2 separate regions of the Homo sapiens genome follow, and region 1 is linked to region 2. The links are contacts of gene promoters, found by promoter capture Hi-C in blood cells and fetal thymus (Javierre and others, 2016). All regions are on one chromosome and are shown on one strand. Each heading gives the region's core, a stretch centred on a gene start or on the middle of the fragment in contact. The rest is flanking DNA. Distances are from core to core; before and after follow the strand shown.

What was found. Contacts are between HindIII fragments. The CHiCAGO score rates a contact against its expected background, and 5 or more counts as called.
Region 1: a fragment that was not itself captured here is called in contact with the fragment with the promoter of CNBP in region 2 in 1 of 17 cell types (naive CD8 T cells); the score reaches 5.0 in naive CD8 T cells.

Annotation. Positions count from the first base shown.
Region 1 is chr3:128,637,732-128,642,208 of GRCh38, forward strand. RPN1 (ribophorin I) reads right to left here. Exons shown (of 10, transcript NM_002950.4): 3 at 68-374. Among named protein-coding and RNA genes, the nearest start is that of RPN1, 11 kb to the right of the region's middle. The HindIII fragment of the contact is 2,410 bases long and covers 171-2,580 here.
Region 2 is chr3:129,182,078-129,186,317 of GRCh38, forward strand. It overlaps CNBP (CCHC-type zinc finger nucleic acid binding protein), which reads right to left and starts at 1,819. Exons shown (of 5, transcript NM_003418.5): 1 at 1,699-1,819. It overlaps LOC105374101 (a long non-coding RNA gene), which reads left to right and starts at 1,997. Exons shown (of 2, transcript XR_924469.3): 1 at 1,997-2,395. RefSeq lists an enhancer at 2,153-2,242. The HindIII fragment of the contact is 13,108 bases long and covers 1-3,837 here.

The DNA of each region.
Region 1 (4,477 bases), core at 126-2,625, 540 kb before region 2:
CCAGTAGTCACTCTGCAAGACATTCTCTGAAGCAGACAGGGATGGGCTGGACTCCACCTGAGCTTACCTGACTATAGGCAGGCACATCTCTGAAAGGCCCATAATCCAGTAGGTCCTCAGAGCGCGTGGGGTTCCCCAGCTTGGTGTAGCTCTCCACATTTCGAGAGGCAAGCTTCACACGCATGGTTTGTGTCTTCGTTGGATAGGGAGAGTAGAAATAATGGTTCCCCTCAAACACCACAAACTGTTTCTCTGACTGGGTGATCTGGGTTGGATACGGATGAAGCACATGGGTGTAGACTGTTTCCACAATGACTGAAATCTTGGCCCCAGGATCAAGAGCAACTGGGAGCTTGACTGTGAAGAATCTCCCACTAAAGGAAGAACAAGGCAAGAGAAGTAAGAGAGACTGAGGATACTGAAAACAGTAGTAGCAGTTCAAAGTCACAACAAAATTTTGAACCAAAGACAAAAGCAATTATCTTTAAGAGATCACCTTTTCCTTTTTGAGATGGAGTCTCACTCTATCACTCAGGCTGGAGTGCAATGGTGCGATCTCGGCTCACCACAACCTCCACCTCTTGGGTTCAAGCGATTCTCCTGCCTCAACCTCCCGAATAGCTGGGATTACCTATTAGAATGTTTTTAACTTTTGTTCCATTGTTGAACATTTACACTGTTTTACACTCTTGCTATTTATAAACAGCCCTGAGAGAAACAGCTACATATCTGTCTTAGAAGACTTAAATTATTTTTTTCTTTTTTTGAGACAGAGTGTTGCTCTGTCGCCCAGGCTGGAGTGCAGTGGCATGATCTCAGCTCACTGCAACTTCCACCTCCCAGGTTCAAGAGATTCTATTGCCTCAGCCTCCCGAGTAGCTGGGACTACTGGCACCTGCCACCATGTCCTGTTAATAAAAGACTTAAATTACTATATTAAAGGTGATCTCTTGGCTGGGTGCAGTGGCTCATGCCTGTAATCCCAGCACTTTGGGAGGCCAAGTCAGGTGAATTTCCTGAGGTCAGGAGTTCCAGACCAGCCTGGCCAACATGGCAAAACCCTGTCTCTATTAAAAATACAAAAATTAGCTGGGCGTGGTGGTGCACACCTGTAGTCCCAGCTACTTGAGAGGTTGAAGTGGGAGGATCACTTGAACCCGGGAGGCGGAGGTTGCAGTGAGCCAAGATAGCGCCACTACACTCCAGCCTGGGTGACAGAGAGAGACTCCATCTCAAAAAAAAAAATTTTAATAGAACCACACAACAGAATACTGACAGTCGTTAGAAATATGGCTTCACACAATAGAATATTGGCAGTCATTAGAAATATGGCTAACCTACATATCTATATTAACATGGAAAGATGTCCATGTACAATGTAAATAACGAAAATCTGTTTACAAATGACAAAGAATAACTCCATTTAAAAACATACATAGACCCGGGGAGGGTGGCTTACGCCTGTAATCCCAGCACTTTGGGAGACCGAGATGGGTGGATCACGAGGTCAGGAGATCAAGACCAACCTGGCTAACACAGTGAAAGCCCATCTCTACTAAAAATACAAAAAAAAATAGCCGGGCGTTGTGGCGGGCACCTGTAGTCCCAGCTACTCAGGAGGCTGGGGCAGGAGAATGATGTGAACCCGGAAGGCGGAGCTTGCAGTGCGCCGAGATCGTGCCACTGCACTCCAGCCGGGCGACAGAGCGAGATACCGTCTCAAGAAAAAAAAAAAAAAAAAAATGAATGAATGTAAAGAATAGTATTTCAAGGAATGTTCAACAAAATGTTAATGGTAACTGTCTCAAGGTTGTAGAATAAGTTTAGTTTGTCTTTTCCAATTTCATTTTATTTTTTATTATTATTATTTTTTGAGACGGAGTCTTACTCTTGTAGCCCAGGCTGGAGTGAAATGGCACAATCTTGGCTCACCGCAACCTCCGCCTGCTGGGTTCAAGTGATTCTCCTACCTGAGCCTCCCCAGTAGCTGGGATTACAGGCGTCCGCCACCACGCCCAGCTAATTTTTGTGTTTTTAGTACAGAGGGGATTTCGCCACGTTGGCCAGGATGGTCTGAACTCCTGACCTCAGGTGATACACCCGCCTCGGGCTCCCAAAGTGCTGGGATTACAGGCATGAGCCACTGCGCCAGGCCCTAATTTGTCTTATAAGGAGCTTGTATCATCCTCATATCAAGAAAAAAATAAAGCTACTAATATTTTAAAGAAAAACAGATGGCTGACCAGCCTTACCAACAAGGTGAAACCCTGTCTCTACTAAAAGTACAAAAATTAGCCGGGCGTGGTGGCAGGCGCCTGTAGTCCCAGATACTCGGGAGGCTGAGACAGGAGAATTGCTTGAACCTGGGAGGCGGAGGTTGCAGTGAGCCGAGATTGTGCCACTGCACTCCAGCCTGGGTGACGGAGCGAGAATCCATCTCAAAAAAGGAAAAAAAAGAAAAACAGATGGCCTGGAAACTTAAAATTCACAGGGTACTAATTCTAAACTGAATCAGTTTTCCAAGCCAGGAGAACAATTTTTAGAAGACGTAGAAACCACTAGTGAAAAATTGAATTAATAAGCTTCAATGAGTTTGTCCTCAAAGGTGAGAACATGGATCACTCTTCCTGATATGACTTTATAGAACACAAAACTTGCATGTCTTTATCAGTCACACCATTATATTTCATATTACAACTGTGACGTTCACTACTCAAAATATAAGTAGCGGAATCTTCTCCTCAGGACAGTCTTAACCAATTCTTAGTTTCAAGTCCCAAATGTGCTTCTCATCCCACTCTCTGTCCTGAATTCTAAAATCAAATTTTCAAATGTTTACTAGACAGCTCCACTGACCACCCCACATGCAATTCAACAAAACCTTATCATTCATGATCCCAAGTCTTGATCTCTCTTAATACCACTGCCATCTGATCAACTCTAAGCTAGAAACCCAGGCATCTTCTGATGCCTCACTCTGCCCTGTCCCCAATACCTGGGCAATCCTGCCTCAGAAATTCCTCTCAGACCCATCCCTTCCTTTGCCTCCTCCTCCATTCAAACCAATACCATGTGCCTAGACTACTGCATCTCTTCCTATTAATCTCCTAATCTCCCTTCCCCCCAGCCCATCTACACAATCTCAAATCAACATTCCCACATTCATTTTACAAGTTGTTAAATGCTGCCACATAATTTAATTTTGCTTTGATAATTCAGAAGACAAATCAGAACCTTTCAGCACTCCAAGATCATTAGGAACATCAAGTCTTACCAAAATGTGGAAGCACCAGCTAATGAAGGTTTTTCAATCAATAAAAGGCTAGACAACACAGAACTGTCTAAACTGATGTACATGGAGCAGGTCTTTTTTTTTTTTCCTAAAGCTCTTCTCTAGCTGGATCTAATGGGAGAACATTGTGTGAATGACTTGGTTTTTTACTCATGTACTCAAACTGATTTACTGAGAACCCCATATAGGTCAGTTTCTGTGGCAGGAAGAGGTGATAAAGACAAATTCATATAATGTATGCACATATAACTAGAAATGAATAAAATGGTAAGCTATGAAAAAAAATTTTTTAATGTTCCCAACTGTGGGCTTTAAGGATAAAGCCCACGCCTTTAATAATGGTTCAGAGCAGTCCTTAAACTGAACTCAACCCACCCTACACAGCTTCACCTTCCTCTGAGCAAGAGCCACTCTGAAAGCCCAGTTAACTAAACACACCATGAAATGTCAACCCTCCGTATCTTTACAGATATCTCTGCCTGAAATGTTCCTTCCATTCCATTAGCCTTCTTTGTGATTAATTCAAAATTTATTAAGTGCTTACTAAGGCTCCAAGTACATTATATATATATTGATTTAGTGAATCTTTTTTTTTTTTTTTTTTTTTGACACGGAGTTTTGCTTTTGTTGCCCAGGCTGGCAATGGCATAATCTCGGCTCACCGGAACCTCTGCCTCCCGGTTCAAGTGGTTCTCCTGCCTCAGCCTCCCGAGTAGCTGGGGTTACAGGCATGCACCACCACTCCTGGCTAACTTTTTTGCATTTTTAGTAGAGATGGGGTTTCTCCATGTTGGTCAGGCTGGTCTCGAACTCCCAACCTCAGGTGATCTGCCTGCCTCGGCCTCCCAAAGTGCTGGGATTACAGGCGTGAGCCACCACGCCTGGCCAATTTAGTGACTCTTAGCCATGATCATATCAGGTAAACACTATTATTTTACTGATGAGGAAACTGAGGAAAATGCTAGTAAACATAACAGAGCTAGGATTTGATCCCAGGCAGTAAAGATGCAAAAAGCACAGTCCTAATAACTAAGTTACCTTGCCTATCCAAGACGCTACAAGCCAGCAGCTAGAGCCAATAAACACAGACAGGGTACTCAGACAGCCTCAGAGAGGGAGAGGAGTCTCTTAAAGCAAGAGAAAGCAATTTTAATAGCGACTTATTTAAAGCTAACTCTCAGATCT
Region 2 (4,240 bases), core at 569-3,068:
TTTTGAAACCCTCAAAGCTCTACACTCCAGTTATACTGCTTGAACAAACAAATAACATAAAATTGCTAATTTAAATTCGAATGGAAATAGTAACTGGTTACGTTTCACTCCAAAATTGGGTCAAACAATAGGAAAGGGGGAAAAATCTACTTTTAAAAATGTAATTTAAAAGCAAGATGGGGATATTCATTAGACCTCCTTCACTTTGAGAAAGACAAAAAACAAATTCAGTTTTGGCTTATCTCACCTGAGTCCTTCTGAATAATGCCTGAAACACACTAGCTAAAATCACAGACGATTACTGAGCAATGTTCTCTTTTTACAAGACCCCCAAGACCAGAAACAGTCACTTCCTTTGGAAGTGCCCTGTGGCTGAGGCCATATGGTTAACATGTGGGAACAAGCACAAGCCTTACCCATAATAAAATCAACACCTAAACCCAAATGTGGACCATTATGCCATTCTAAAACAGGTTCTCACGATATGGAAAAATCTAGATGGAGGGGAGCTAGTTGAATTTCGTGTCTCGTTTGTAATTACATCTGTTTCATTAATCCAAGAAATGATGCAGACTACCGCCCGCTGCTGTGGTTTTGGAGGTTTGACAAATTCGTGTTTTTTCTGGTAATGGCGCTTTTAAAGGATCCCAGCAACTTAAATAGTGTTAACTCTTGGAATGTGAGCCCCATCAGCCCCTTTTGGAATGGTAATGTAACACAAGCAACTTAGTATTTAAATGACGATAAAAATTCAAGAATCGGAAAACTATCAAGGATAGGGAGTATAAACTCTAAAAGCTCCCAAGTCTTCCAGCAGTCTCGCCACTCCAAACACAAAGGCTTCTTCAGGAACCCTTTGTTGTTGTTTGTTTGTTTGTTTGTTTGTTTTTTTAAGACGGAGTCTCTCTCTGTTGCCCATGCTGGAGTGTAGTGGCGCGATCTCGGCTCACCACAACCTCGGCCTCCGGGGTTCACGCGATTCTCCTGTCCAGCCTCCCGAGCTGCTGGGACTACATGCGCCCGCCACCATGCCCGGCTAATTTTTTATTTTTAGTACAGACCAACTTTCACCATATTGGTCAGGCTGGTCTCGAACTCCTGACCTCGTGATCCGCCCGCCTGGGACTCTCAAAGTGCTGGGATTACAGGCGTGAGCCACCGCGCCCGGCCTAAGAACCCTTTTCTAAGGCCCCCAAAACCCTTGGCACATGGCCCGCCAGGCGCACGACCCCAGCACATGGCCTGCACGACTATACCCACCCCATCCCCCCTTCATCCGCAGCCGGGAGCCTTTCCCCACCACACGGACTCCTTCCAGTGAGTTCCCGCCAAATCCACCCTCGGTCCCTCATTCCGCGACCCTCGAAGCGTCAGGGCCTCGGCCCCAAGGGCGCACGGGCGGGCCTCCTCTGCCCTAAGCCTGCGGCCTGGGGTGCGGCCGTGGCGCCGAAAGACCCGCATGCTCGGCGACCCAGCTTTCCAGGACGAAGAAAGGACAGAAGTGTCGTCCGACAGCGGTGCGCCAGAAACCCGGGTCCGAGGCGGCGGCAGCAGCCGAGCTTCCCGCCTGACGCAGCAGAGGCGCAGGCCAAAGTGCGGCCGCCATCGCCACCTCGCCGCTCCCTACCCTCTCTGTCCGCCACAGACCCGACCCGCACTGCGGCTCCGTCAGCGCCGGGCCCCTCCCCCAGCCCTCACCTTCCGCGTCGGAGCGGGCCCGCAGCGGCGGAGACTCGGACGCAGGCCTGGGGAAGACGGCTCGCAAGGTAGAGGCTGTTTATTTTGAGGGTCCTTGCCTGCGCCACACGCGGGTCTGCACACGGCCCCACATACGCCGCTGCGCACGGCTCTCCTCCGCCTCGCCCACGCGGCCAATCAGCGCGCGGGGTTCGGCAGTCCAATCAGAGCCGCCCGCGGCAGGGCCGCCCACTAGAGCGCGGCGCGGGGCGGGTGTTTCTGCGCGCAGCGTCTTTTCCCGCCGTGCCCCGCGCGCGGCCTTTCACGCCGGGATCCGGGTCCCGGTGCTTCTCGGTTCATTCCCAGCTGGGTCCGGGCCCGGCCAGACTGGGTGGAAATCTGGCTGACCTTGGTGGTCTGTCTTGGCCAGCTGGAGCAAAGGGATGCCAGGGGACGGGTCTCGGTGCAGTGACTGCCATTAGCTTGGGGCCGCAGAAAGTTTCTCCCCTTTCTCGGGCTCCTGCCAGGCCCTTGGCTTTCAGAGCCAGGCCCGATTTCTAGATAACATTTAAGTTTGCAGAAAAGGGGATGCCAAGTCACGGTGGTCACGGCTGTGGGATGCAGCCTCTGAGATTTGTATTAATTTTTGTGAGCCGGGGAAAGGCCTTGCTGCTTTCTCCGCCAGGACTGATGTGTCTTCCCAAGATGAAAGTGCCTGGTAAGGGCGAGGGGCCTCCCTGGGAAGGTCATGAGCATGTAAGGTAATGGGGCCTAGACTGTGACTTTTGGCACGTTTATGAGTGACATCCCCCGGGAGGGCAAGGATAACCATTTGACCTGGTCTGTCATATTCAGGAATAGACTTCAGTTTAGTTGTGGTATTTTCTCCAAAAGAGATTTGTGTATATAGCCCTAGATAGTCTTGTCAAGATTAAACCCAATTTAAACTGTTAACTATAAAATATTTTAGAATTTTGTCTCATTCTAGAATGGCTTTATTCGAAACAAAAAAAAAGGAAGAGTCCCAAGTTTCGTCTCAGTGAAACCTGCCAGTTCAACACTATGATTTATTTTTCTTTTTTTCTTTAATTTTTTTTTTTTTTAAGAGTAGGGTCTTGCTCTGTCGCTGGGTTTACAGGCATAAGCCACCAATCCCAAATCCCGGGGCTATGATTTTTGAAATCATGTTCGTGAGAAGGCAGAGCACATGTGTTGAGAGTCAGACTTTAAACCTGGGTTCAAATCATTAGTGCTTAATCATTGTAAAGCAGTTAGGAGGTTGCGTTCAACATAGCAATTATCAAAGAATGAATGTATAACTTTAAAGACCAATGATATTTTAAACTTTTTTTTTTTTTTGAGAACGGAGTCTCACTCCGTTGCCCAGGCTGGAGTGCAATGGCACGATCTCAGCTCACTGCAACCTCCGCCTCCTGGATTCAAGTGATTCTCCTGCCTCAGCCTCCCCAGTAGCTGGGATTATAGGCATGCGCCACCACGCCCGGCTAATTTTGTATTTTTAGTATAGGCGGGGTTTCTCCATGTTGGTCAGGCTGGTCTCAAACTCCCGACCTCAGGTGATCCGCCCACCCAAAGTGGTGATCGTCCTCCCAAAGCACTGGGATTACAGGCATGAGCCACCGCGCCTGGCCGAACTTTTTAAATTTATTTATTACTATTTTTTGAGACAGGGTCTCCCTCTGTTGCCCAGGCTGGAGTGCTGTCTCAGCTCACTGCAACCTCCGCTTCCCATGTTTGACCAATTCTGCCTCAGCCTCCTGAGTAGCTGGGACTGCAGGCGCCCACCACCACGCCTGGCTAATTTTTGTATTTTTAGTAGAGATGGGGTTTCATCATGTTGGCCAGGCTGGTCTTGAACTCCTGGCCTCAAGCGGTGCTAGGCCAAAGTGCTAGGATTACAGGTGTGAGCCACTGCACCCAGTGCCCCCAAAGTGCTAGGATTACAGGTGTGAGCCACTGCACTCAGCCTTAAACATTTTTTTAATTAAAGCAACCTAAGGTAAAATTTTTTAACCAAATTTAACCCATTCCCAATCAGATTGAATAAATGCCTAGCAGCTTATGTGTTGTGCTAAAACACGATATATTATCTGCCAATAAAAAACAGTATTTTGTATTTATATAGTTTTATTACCAAGAAGCTTACTCAGCTTTATGATTTCCCCTTTGTAATCTGATTAACCTTCATAGTATCTTGAAGTAATGTATAGTGTAGCAATCAGACACTTAGGTAGTGACTTCGTGAGCTCTGACAATGAGTCAATATAATGCAAGAGGCTATGTATGAAGTCCAACCTGGGTGCGTCCACACCACACCAAGAGGACAAGTTAAAATTACCATATGGCCAAAAATTAATATTTTCTGACTTATTTTTGTTTACCATTCCAACCATAGTACTGTATAAAATGTTTGCTATTCATTATAGACCCAGGAATGGAATATTCCTAATATTAAAACAAAAATTTCAACAGCTATAGAAAATGAAAGTGAGTGTGAGATAGAGATACTGGACATAATGTTCTATAGGTTTTAAAAGACTTA